2 separate regions of the Homo sapiens genome follow, and region 2 is linked to region 1. Evidence: promoter capture Hi-C in human tissues and cell types (Jung and others, 2019). All regions are on one chromosome and are shown on one strand. Each heading gives the region's core, a stretch centred on a gene start or on the middle of the fragment in contact. The rest is flanking DNA. Distances are from core to core; before and after follow the strand shown.

The links. The method cuts DNA at HindIII sites, captures the fragments that hold promoters and counts their contacts. A contact is called where the count stands out against the background at its distance.
Region 2: a fragment that was not itself captured here is called in contact with the fragment with the promoter of KBTBD11 in region 1 in 1 of the 25 tissues and cell types used here (heart left ventricle).

The regions. Positions count from the first base shown.
Region 1 is chr8:1,970,965-1,977,046 of GRCh38, reverse strand. It overlaps KBTBD11 (kelch repeat and BTB domain containing 11), which reads right to left and starts at 3,370. Exons shown (of 2, transcript NM_014867.3): 1 at 3,112-3,370. KBTBD11-AS1 (KBTBD11 antisense RNA 1) reads left to right here and starts at 3,702. Exons shown (of 3, transcript NR_136275.1): 1 at 3,702-3,899; 2 at 4,384-4,507; 3 at 4,690-5,868. KBTBD11-OT1 (KBTBD11 overlapping transcript 1) reads right to left here and starts at 5,650. Exons shown (of 3, transcript NR_126346.1): 1 at 5,529-5,650; 2 at 5,010-5,122; 3 at 603-1,148. The HindIII fragment of the contact is 1,977 bases long and covers 3,116-5,092 here.
Region 2 is chr8:1,708,966-1,715,047 of GRCh38, reverse strand. No RefSeq gene overlaps it. Among named protein-coding and RNA genes, the nearest start is that of CLN8, 52 kb to the left of the region's middle. The HindIII fragment of the contact is 7,164 bases long and covers 1-6,082 here.

The sequences.
Region 1 (6,082 bases), core at 2,121-4,620:
GGGCCTCATTCAAAGCTGTCCTGGGCCACATGTGGCTCGTGGCCCATGGGTTGGAGGACCTTGCTCTAAAGTGTGAAGCTCCATCAATTTAACTCAGCCATAAAATCGGCTGACATTACACTTTTACTACACCCTGCTCCAGCGCCCCTCACTGACCTCTCCGTGCTCTAGTCCTCACCACAGGGCCTTTGCACACAATGTTCCCGCAAACTGTCCCCTCCTGGGCTCCTGAGCCACCCCTCTCATCCCTTAGTTCTCGGCCTAACATTCCTCTGTTACGTGCATTCAAGGGAATGTATTCCTCTCCTTCAACGCACTCATCTCCGTGTGTTATTACCTAAGAATTAACGTAATTATATGCTGAATGCCTTTCACTGTATTAACGTCTCAGCTGCAGATAGCAGAGAACTAGGCTGACTTTACTTACAACTGTATTCCCAGCACCTAGGACTGAGCCTGACCCACAGCAGGGTGGGGGGTGGGGGAGCAGGGGAACTCCACAAATATTCAGAAGAGAAGGAAATTCATGCTAATCCTTCAAACAAAATGCACATAAGACATGCAACGGTTTCTATTTCCAAGACAACATTTATTTCAAAATCATTTCTAGCAGGAACCTGGCTGTTGGCAAAAAGTAAACTAGATGCTTTAATTTATTCTTAAAGTTTTTGCTCATTGTTAAATACTTTGCAAACATGTGCTGGATACCAACACTATACTTTTAGCTTAATTACAATGATTTCAAGAGGAAAAAAAAAACAAACTCAAGACCACAATTGACACGATGAGCCCTTGACCTCCGGAGAAGGGCAGATATCGCCCTGAGTCACCAAGGGAACACATGCTGAATGACAGGCTGATTTGTGATCAGGAAACCCGCTGTTCTCCGGGCCCTTCTCAAGCCCACTCAGACACCAGTCCTCCTTGATCACAGCCTTGGATGCAAGGAGGCTTAGAGGCACTGCAGCTGCCTAAGTGATTCCAGATTTGCAGGAGAGCTATTATTACTGAGCAATCTGTGCTCTTGGTATTTAGAAAACAACTGAAACATGTGCCCAGATGGAGGCGTCCACAGCACGGAGAGTCTCTCTGTATCAGCACAGGGACAAAGACGGGACCTGCTGGGCTCCCACTGCCAAGGTTGCTACCTGTACCGGAACATATGGAAACCCCATTGAAGCGGGTTTGTATTGGAGTTTACAAATGATGCGATAAGCTCCAAACCACCTTTCCGGATTCTTCCATCCACCCAGAGCAAGGTGCTCTGAGGTTCAAGTTAGGCCCAGACATCAGTCAACACAGAGTCCTGCTCCCTGGGAATTTCTTTAGTCTCAGAGCCACAACATTTAAGCTTTCTCCCCTCCTCCCAAGCCCAATGCTGGCTTAAATACAGTCACGAATGGTTCAGATGCAGACAGGTTCTGAGAAATGATAGTTAGATAACTTCATCACTGTGCAAACATCACACAGGGCACCTACACACCTAGGCGGTGCAGCCTGCTACACACCTGTGCTCCACTGCACAGACTCCTGCTCCAGACTGCACACCTGTGCAGCGTGCACAATACCGCAGGCAATTGTAACACAATGGTGTTTGTGTATCTACACATTTCTAAGCATGAAAAAGACACAGGGAAAACAGTTTTATAATCTTACAGGACCACCGTCAACTTGGCGGTCTGTAATTGATCCGAACGTGGCTGTGCTACACATCACTATAATGTAAGCAACATCTTTTAACTGATTTTATTATGTGCTGTCCAATGCTATGGCCAGCAATGCCTGTGCAACTGACATGGAAAGTTCAAAGGCTTTACCTCATTACAATTTTTACTTAGTTATGCCCTGATGGGAGCATTGCAATGCCAGTTACCATAAATCTGCACACACGAGGTTGTTGCTGGAGCAAATCTGAAGGCAATGGAACGCTCCCTTCCGTGATGTCAGGAATGGGGAGGATTATTCTAATAATAGCACACTATTAGCTCAGGATAAAAGGCTGAAGGGTTCCATTGACATCCATTAAGGGGTCCTAATTGGAGCCTGAGTAACTGCTCCTTAGTGGGAAATGGAGGCGGGAACCGCGGGGAATCGGGCGAACTTCTCACTCAGGGCCTGAGGGGATGGCTGGAACTTTAAAATCTGACGGCGGCGCCTTTCGTGGGCTGAGTAGAATAAAGCTCGCTGCACTGATTTGTTCCTTTTCTTTTCCTTAGAATAGACACTGGAGTGGGTGGAGGGGGAAACGTGGTTTTGTAGGACTCTAAAGAGGTGGAGGGACTTTGGTTCACCCTCTTTTCATGCTCCAGAATGAGCCCCGCCTGAGAGGAGGGACCCCTGCGGAATCCCGCCCAGACCGCCCGGGGGTCTCCCCAGCACATGGGGCGGGGGCTGCAAGGGGCGCCCGGCAGGACTCGGGAGCCGCGGCGCGGTGGGGCGGGTGGGTCGCGGTGCTCGGGGCTCGCGGGGGTCAGCAGCCAGGACACCCCCGCACCCCGGGCGCAGCGGCGGAGGACCAAGGGCCGCGCTCCCCTCCCCAGGGCCCCGAGTCCAGGAGAGACCCCCGTTCGCTCCGGACAGCCGATCCCCGCGACCGCCGAGAGCCAAGCGGAGCAACCCCGGGAGGAGCCCCCGCCCTGGCCCCGCGCGCTTGGCTTCGGCTTCTGCTCCTGCTTCCGTGCCGGCTGGGGCGGCGGGACCCTCGGCGGGGGCGGTGACTGCGGGCGCGGCGCGGGCGGCTCATTGTCTTCCGGCCGGGGTTGCCGCGTCCCGGGGGAGGGCCTGTGGAGACCCCGCGAGGAGGCCCCCACGCCCCCCACGCGGCCTCCCGGAGGCGGAGCGGAGACCACCCACCGCCGCCCACCCCGCCGCGGGCAGCGCTGCCCCCTCCTCTCCCGGTCCCCCCTCCCCTCCCCTCCGCTCCGCTCCCCTCCCTCCCCTGCCGGCCTCCCCTCCCCGCCTCTCCCCTGCCGGCCTCCCCTTTTCTCCCCTCCCGCCTACTGCCGCTCTCGCCGACCACCTCCCACCCGCCGCCCCCTCCGACCCGCGCCTCGGGCTGCTTCCCGCTCCGCCCGCCAGGCCCCGCCGCTGCCTCCCCGGGGTCCGCCCTACCTCGCCGCGGCTCCTCTTCAGCCGCCGGGCCCGGGACGCGCAGCCAGGCGGGTGGGCTCCGGCGCATGCGCGCGGCCGCTTCCCGGCACCTGTGGGAGCCGCGGCCCGGCCTCTCCGAGCACCTGCGAGCGGGAGCTGCTCCTCCGACCCGCAGCGGGGCGTGGGCGGCAGAGGGGGCGGTGGACAGGCCTCTCCGCCTCTCCAGGCCGCGCGGAGCCAGCGCTCCGGCTCCAGGCTGCGAGGGGCGCGCGCGGGGCGCGGGGAGGGGGGCGGGCGCGTGCACACGGGGCGTTTTCGGGCGCGCGCCCCCTGGCTGGGTCTGCGGAGGGGCTGTGGGTTCCCCGGGGCTTCCCTGCCCCGCGCCTGCCCGCCGGGCGCTTCTCCCCCTCCAGGACCGCGGCCCACGTCGCCACTCGAGCCCGAGCCCGAGCCCGCGCCCACGCGCGGGGGCCGCTTCCTGCGAGGAGGCGGGGACAGGTGTCCGCGGGCGCAAACAGCGGAGTTTCGTGCGCCTATTTTTTGGTAAAAGTAGAGGCGATGCGTTGTTGACATATTTAGTGGTTAAAAACTTATTGCCAAATTCTCAACAGATTCCAGAATTTTTTAAAGTTCACAACACGAGAGTGGACGAAATGTCGGAGCTTTTGCTCATATCCAGAAATGTGGCCTCTGCCTCCCACTCGGGCCCTGCGGTGCAGACGGGTTCAGGGCGGCGAGGACTGAGCCAGGAGCGCCGAGAGTTCCAGCTGCTCCCAGGCTGGGTTCTAATTAACGCTGGACCCCTGCTGGTAAATGCTATTTTTAATGGCTTTGTGCAAATTAATGACGATGAGATTTCCATAAGTACCGAGAGCCAGAGCCTTTACTTTCTCTTTTTGTGTTCTTTTTGCTTGTGACAGTCTTTGCCAGTTCCATGCTGTATACACATAATGAGCCGTTACAACTCCAGCACCAAAGCTAACGCCCCGGGAACATCTTTAAAACCTTTTTCACTCTGTTGCCAAGAAGAGTAGTACCTGCTGTCAGTACTTGAATTACAGGAGGCTGAAACTCAGCGAGCTACTGGGATTTTTTGAAAATTGAAAACTTCCGTTAACTATAGCAGAAACAGACCCTTTTGGTGGAAGCTAAAATAATTCCCATGCTGCTCCGTTTTTATTTTGTTCAGTTTACTCCAAAAATGTTCCAAACTCTACTGTGATCTTCTTAGTGCATCTCTACTTCCTTTCGGCTGCAGAATAATACTTCTTTTTCTCTTTTGTTTTTTTTTAGAGATGGAGTCTCACTCTGTCGCCCAGGCTGGAATGCAGTGGTGCAATCTCGGCTCACTGCGATCTCTGCGTCCTGGGTTCAAGCAATTCTCCTGCCTCAGCCTCCCAAGTAGCTGTGACTACAGGCATGCACCACCACACCCAGCTAAATTTTGTATTTTTAGTAGAGACAGGGTTTCACTGTACATTGGCCAGGCTGGTCTCGATCTCCTGACCTCAAGTGATCCACCTGTCTTGGCCTCCCAAAGTGCTGGGATTACAGGCATGAGCCACCGCGCCTGGCCTAACTACCCCCATTCTTTTCCAGAGAAACGTGAACAGGCCAAACAAAGCCTCACCTGGCTATCCCGCCACCCTGGGGTTGGGCCTCCAAAGGCCCGGGAGGTCACCTAAGACACGGTGTTCTGAACATGCAAGCCCGACAGCATCTTCTCTACCATTCTGCCAGAGTCCAGAGACCTGGGAATAGGTCATACCCCCCACTGCATTTTACAAGCTTGGCATACATTAGGTTCTCAATAAATACTGAATTAATGAAAAAATTGCTGAAGTAACTGAAAACATCCATCCAAACCCCACACCATCTGGTAGATAAGTAGTCTGTGGGGAGTCCCATATTTTTCTTACCTTAGATATTTATTTGGAAATGGACTGTAGGCCCAATATGGTCAATGAAACTTGCAGAGGAACATTTCATGCCTTTAATTAGTTCTTCATAACTGCAGGGACCTCTAGAGTTCCTGAAATTGAACTGGGTTGTAATACTGTCAAGAAAAAGGAGGACCTATCTTAAATCTATTTCAAGGGTAATACTATTTTACTATGTAAATTTTCCCCTGGTCAGGGACAGCCTGATCATGCATGGTAGACTCGAAGCATGCAAATATTTCAACATGCAAAACCGCCCTAAAAATATAACCGAAGCTTATGGAGTTGTCCAGGGTACAGTGGTTTACTGGCCCCTGAATGCGGGACTCCATCAAACTGGGTTCCAGGCTGGGAGGTCTCTGAACCCAATTTCTAGACAGCCTGCTTTGGAGTTCAACTGATGGGACCTTAGACACCAGCCTTACCCTCTGCAAGTCTTGTGATTTGGAGCCAGATACTTGGCCTCTCTGTGCTCCAGGGAGACACCACTGCACCTACCTGAGAGGACTGAAGGAGAGGATCTGTGCAACTCACTCAGGATACTGGATCTTAAGCCAATGGGTGGACTTACATTCGTCACCTCTGATTCTGTCTCCTCCTGCGCGGTGACTTAGCAAACACTTCTTCCTCTCCAGCTCTGCTTCTTACTCTCCAGCTCTGCTGCCCTGTTCCAGTGCTGACGCCAGACAACAGATAATTTCCCAAATGCTTGTATTAGCCCTTAGGAGTTCATGTGTTCCTCCCCCAGCCAATAAAGCTGTTAAATCCCAATAACTGTCAGGAATGGAGCCAATTGCTATAAAGTACTTCCAGCTTCTTGGCATGAAGAAATAATTAGAATATATGTGTTGGCTTTGAAACAACACTCACTGGTTCATTAAAAAATTCTGTGCATATTGTACAAAAGTAGTCTTGGCCTTGGCACTCCCTTAGGTGAACCTTACCCGGCCCTGGCACTCCCTTAGGTGAACCTTACCCGGCCCTGGCACTCCCTTAGGTGAACCTTACCTACTTCAGTGCTTCCTCAGCTCTGATGAACTGTGTGCAATTGC
Region 2 (6,082 bases), core at 1,976-4,475, 260 kb after region 1:
CACTGCGCTTGGCCATTGAGTGAGTTTCTTAATCCTGAGTTCTAATTTGATTGCATTGTGGTCAGAGAGGCCGTTTGTTATGACTTCCATCCTTTTGCATTTGCTGAGGAGTGTTTTACTTCCAATTATGTGGTTAATTTTAGAATAAGCATAATGAGATGCTGACAAGAATGTGTATTCTATTGATTTGGGGTGGAGAGTTCTGTAGATGTCTATTAGGTCTGCTTGGTCCAGATCTGAGTTCAGGTCCTGAATATCCTAGTTAATTTTCCGTCTCATTGATCTGTCTGATATTGACAGTGGAGTGTTAGACTCCCACACAATAATATGGGAGATTTTAAGTCTCTTTGTAGGTCTCTAAGAACTTGCTTTATGAATCTGCGTGCTCCTGTATTGGGTGCTTATATATTTAGGATAGTTAGCTCTTGGTGAATTGATCCCTTTACCATTATGTAATACCTTTCTTTGTCTCTTTTCATCTCTGTTGGTTTAAAGTCTGTTTTATCAGAGACTAGGATTGCAACCCCTGCCTTTTTTTGCTTTCCATTTTCTTCGTTAATATTCCTCCATCTGTTTATTTTGAGCCTATGTGTGTCTTTGCACATGAGATGGGTCTCCTGAATACAGCACACTGATGGGTCTTGACTCTTTATCCAATTTGCCAGTCTGTGTCTTTTAATTGGGGCATTCAGTCCATTTACGTTTAAGGTTAATATTGTTATGTGTGAATTTGATCCTGTCATTATGATGCTAGCTGGTTATTTTGCTCATTAGTTTATGCAGTTTCTTTGTAGTGTTGATGGTCTTTACAATTTTTTTTTTTTTTTTGAGATGGAGTCTTGCTCTGTTGCCCAGGCTGGAGTGCAGTGCTGCAGTCTCGGCTCACTGAAAGCTCCACCTCCTGGGTTCACGCCATTGTCCTGCCTGACCCTACCAAGAAGCTGGGACTACAGACGCCTGCCACCATGCCCGGTTAATTTTTTTGTATTTTTAGTAGAGATGGGGTTTCACTGTGTTAGCCAGGTTGGTCTCGATCTCCTGACCTCGTGTTCTGCCTGTCTCAGCCTTCCAAAGTGCTGGCATTACAGGTGTCAGCCACTGCACCTGGCCACAATTTGGTATGTTTCTGCAATGGCTGGTACTGGTGGTTCCTTTCCATGTTTAGTGCTTCCTTCAGGAGCTCTTGTAAGGCAGGCCTGGTGATGACAATATCTCTCAGCATTTGCTTGTCTGTAAAGGATTTTATTCATCCTTTGCTTATGAAACTTAGTTTGGCTGGATATGAAATTCTGGTTGAAAATTCTTTTCTTTAAGAATGTTGAACATTGGCCCCACTCTCTTCTGGCTTGTAGGGTTTCTGCAGAGAGATCCACTGTTAATCTGATGGGCTTCCCTTTGTGGGTAGTCTGACCTTTCTCTCTGGCTGCCCTTAAGATTTTTTTCCTTCATTTCAACCTTGGTGAATCTGATGTTAATGTGTCTTGGGGTTGCTCTTCTCCAGGAGTATCTTTGTCGTGTTCTCTGTATTTCCTGAATTTGAATGTTGGCCTGTCTTGCTAGTTTGGGGAAGTTCTCCTGGATAATATCCTGAAGAGTATTTCCCAACTTGGTTCCATTCTCCCCGTCACTTTCAGGTACACTAATCGAACTTAGATTTGGTCTTTTCACGTAGTCCCATATTTCCTGGAGGCTTTGTTTGTTCCTTTTCATTCTTTTTTCTGTGATCTTGTCTTCTCACTTTATTTCATTTCGTTGATCTTTAATCTCTGATATCCTCTCTTCCATTTGATCGATTCGGCTATTGATACTTGTATATGCTTCACGAAGTTCTCATGCTGTGGTCTTCAGCTTCATCAGGTCATTTATGTTCTTCTCCACACTGGTTATTCTAGTTAGCAATTCCTCTAACCTTTTTTCCAGGTTCATAGCTTCCTTGCTTTGGGTTAGAACATGCTCCTTTAGCTCAGAGGAGTTTGTTACCCACCTTCTGAAGCCTACTTCTGTCAATTCATCAAACTTATTCTCTGTCCAGTTTTGTTCCCTTGCTGGCGAGGAGTTGTGATCCTTTGGAGAAGAAGAGGCGTTATGGCTTTTGGAATTTTCAGCCTTTTTGCGCCAGTTCCTTCCATCTTCATGGATTTCTCTACCTTTGGTCTTTGATGCTGTTGACCTTCAGATGGGGTTCTGGTGTGGATGTCCTTTTTGTTGATGTTGATGCTATTGCTTTCTGTTTGTTAGTTTTCCTTCTAACCATCAGGCCCCTCTGCTGCAGGTCTGCTGGAGTTTGCTGGAGGTCCACTCCAGACCCTGTTTGCCTGAGTATCGCCAGCGGAGGCTGCAGAACAGCAAAGATTGCTGCCTGTTCCTTCCTTTGGAATCTTCATCCCAGAGGAGCACCCACCAGATGCCAGCCAGAGCTCTCCTGTATGAGGTGTCTGTTGTCCCCTACTGGGAGGTTTCTCCCAGTCAGGATACACCAGGGTCAGGGACCCAGTTGAGGAGGCAGTCTGACCCTTAGCAGAGACTTGAGTGCTGTGCTGGGAGATCTGCTGTTGTCTTCACAGCCGTCAGGCATGAGCGTTTAATTCTGCTGAAGCTGCACCCACAGCCGCCCCTTTCCCTGGGTGCTCTGTCCCAGTTAGATGGGGGTTTTATCTACAAGCCCCTGACTGGGGCTGCTGCCTGTTTTTCAGAGATGCCCTGCCCAGAGAGGCGGAGTCTAGAGAGGCAGTCTGGCCACAGTGGCCTTGCTGAGCTGCGGTGGGATTGCCCAGTTCGAACTTCCCAGAGGCTTTGTTTACACGGTGAGGGTAAAACTGCCTACTCAAGCCTCGCAGTGGTGGGCACCCCTGCCCGCACCAAGCTTGAGCATTTCAGGTTGATTTCAGGTTGATTTCTGTGCTGGCAGCAAGAATTTCAAGCCAGTGGATCTTAGCTTGCTGGGCTCCTTGGGGGTGGGACCCACCGAGCCAGACCACTTGGCTCCCTGGCTGCAGCCCCTTTTCCAGGAGAGTGAACGGTTAGCGGCTTATCAATTTTATTGATCTTTTCAAAGCGCTGGCTTTTGATTACATTATTTTTCTCTGTTTCCTATTTTCAATTGTATTGATTTCTGCTCTAATTTTTATTATTTCATTTCCTGTGCTTACTTTGGATTTGACTGCCTCCTAAGATGGATATCTAAATGATTGCTTTTGGATCATTCTTTTCTAATACAGGCATTGAATGCTATGCATTTCTTCCAGGCACTGCTTTTGCTGCATCTCACAAATTTACATATATTGTGTTGTTATTTTCATTTAGTTTAAATATTTTTAAATTTCTTTTGAGACTTCTTTGTAGATCCATGTGGTATTAGAAGTGCATTGCTTAATCTCCATGTGTTTGGGGATTTTCCAGCTATCTTTCTGTTACTGATTTCTAGTTTAACTCCGTTGTGGAATTGAGAGTTCATACATTGTATGACTCTATTCTTTTACATCTGTTAGCGTGTGTTTCATAGCCCAGAGTGTAGCTTGGGAAGCATGTGTGTTCTGCTGTAGTTGGATGAAGTAGGGTGTTAGGTGTTCATTACAGCTAGGTAACCAGTGGTGCTTCTTTTACATCTGTTAGCGTGTGTTTCATAGCCCAGAGTGTAGCTTGGGAAGCATGTGTGTTCTGCTGTAGTTGGATGAAGTAGGGTGTTAGGTGTTCATTATAGCTAGGTAACCAGTGGTGCTTCTTTTACATTTTTAAAGTGTGTTTCATAGCCCAGAGTGTAGCTTGGGAAGCATGTGTGTTCTGCTGCAGTTGGACGAAGTAGGGTGTTAGGTGTGCATTATAGCTAGGTAACCAGTGGTGCTTCTTTTACATCTGTTAAGGTGTGTTTCATAGCCCAGAGTGTAGCTTGGGAAGCCTGTGTGTTCTGCTGCAGTTGGACGAAGTAGGGTGTTAGGTGTGCATTATAGCTAGGTAACCAGTGGTGCTTCTTTTACATTTTTAAAGTGTGTTTCATAGCCCAGAGTGTAGCTTGGGAAGCATGTGTGTTCTGCTGTAGTTGGATGAAGTAGGGTGTTAGGTGTTCATTATAGCTAGGTAACCAGTGGTGCTTCTTTTACATTTTTAAAGTGTGTTTCATAGCCCAGAGTGTAGCTTGGGAAGCATGTGTGTTCTGCTGCAGTTGGACGAAGTAGGGTGTTAGGTGTGCATTATAGCTAGGTAACCAGTGGTGCTTCTTTTACATCTGTTAAGGTGTGTTTCATAGCCCAGAGTGTAGCTTGGGAAGCCTGTGTGTTCTGCTGCAGTTGGACGAAGTAGGGTGTTAGGTGTGCATTATAGCTAGGTAACCAGTGGTGCTGTTGAGGTCAGCTATGTCCTTGCTGATTTTCTGCTGGCTGGATCTGTCAGTTACTGGTAGACAGGTGCTGAGCTCTCTAACCGCCACAGTGGATTTCTCTTTCTTTGTAGTTCTGCTGGTTTTCGTGTCACTTGACACTGTTTTTAGGCACAGGCACATTGAGCATTGTCATGCCTTTGTGGAGAACTGGCCTCTTTATCATTATGTCATGTCCTTCTGTGTCCTGGAGGAGATTTCTTGTCTGAAGGGTGCCCTGTCTGGTGTTAATGCAGTGACTGCAGCTTTCTTTGGATTAGTGTTAGCATGGTTTACACTGCTCTATGGTGTTACTTTTAATCAGTGTCTTTATATTTAAAGCGCTTTTCTGGTAACAGCATGCTGTTGGGTCTCTTTTTTAAAAAGTCCTGTGCTCAAGCGATCCTCTCACCTTGGCATCCCAAAGTGCTGGGATTACAGGTGCGAGCCACCATACCCGGCCTCCCTCTTTTTTAATACAAAAGTGCTATTGATGGAATGGTAAGGTGTAGGGGGGAGGGGAAGCTTTCTCTTATCCTATGATTGGGTCTCAGTCTTTCAGTGAGCCTGTGCCCTGAGGTCTGATCTTTGTAAATCCTTCCCAGTCCCCCCTCCCCACCCCTGCCTTAGGATGGCTACAGGGGGCTGGCATAGGGTCTTTCCCTTCCCCTAGATATGTCAGACTCTGGCAAACCCCAAGTCTGTCTGTTAGGCTTTGGTAGGATACTTTTACTTGAGGGCCTTTTTTTAAGGTGAACAGATGCTCTGGGCATATTTCAGAATGGCTACTTTCCCCCCACCTGCTGGAAACACAAGGGCATTTTTCTCTGATCTATACCCTGAGAACCTGGCGGGGGGGGCGGGGGGGTTCCTGGGGGTAAAGCTCACAAGGTGTTGGGGGCGTCCTAAGACTGGGCCCCCTAGAGTTTTCAGTCCTCAGGTTTGTCCACGTTGAGCTTCTGGGTTTGTCAGCCACGGGTCAGGCTTCCCCAGCCCAGCACAGGTCCCCACAGAGGTTTCCGTACCTGGGCATCTGCTCAGTGGGTTGTGAGTCTCTGTGTCAGCCTCTCTCATTCTGGGGGAGCTGTTTGCCCTGTGACATTCATTTTGATAAGAATCTACAAAGAATTGCTGCTTTTCAGCTTGTTCCACTTTTTCTTGTTGTGAGGACAGAATGCTGTATGAGAAACCAGAAATTCTCATGCACTGGTCTCTTGGTTTTTAATTAAAAGATTCTATAAATTATCTTGTTATAATTTAAAATGAATTCCACAGTAATTTATTTGTACTTTTACTGACTTCTGGGAAAATAATGTTTGACTACATGAGGATGAAGGTATAATGTTTCAAATGAAAGGCCAAGTAAATTAAAATATTTATTGAAGGGCTATGGGATTAAAAAAGAAAAATATATAAAGCTTTGTTTTCGCTGGTTATAAGTGTATCTTGAAAAGAAATACAGTAAAGGAAAGACATGAAAAACAATGCATGAAACACAGTCCTGATGTGTGCTGGGGGGAGGGTTGTCCTCAAGAGCTGCACTGTGCCCCTGGGGAGACTGCAGAGCAATACTCAGAGTATCCAGGCAAGGAGTGCATAGAAAGAAGGTGCAGAGACATGAGGCAGCAGGATTTCTCACTGAGAGGGGTGAGACTAGCTGGTCACAGGCAAGAGAAAGAAGGGCAGGTGCAACTGATCAAGGAGGTGGAAGGCAGGGAGCAACTGCTCAGA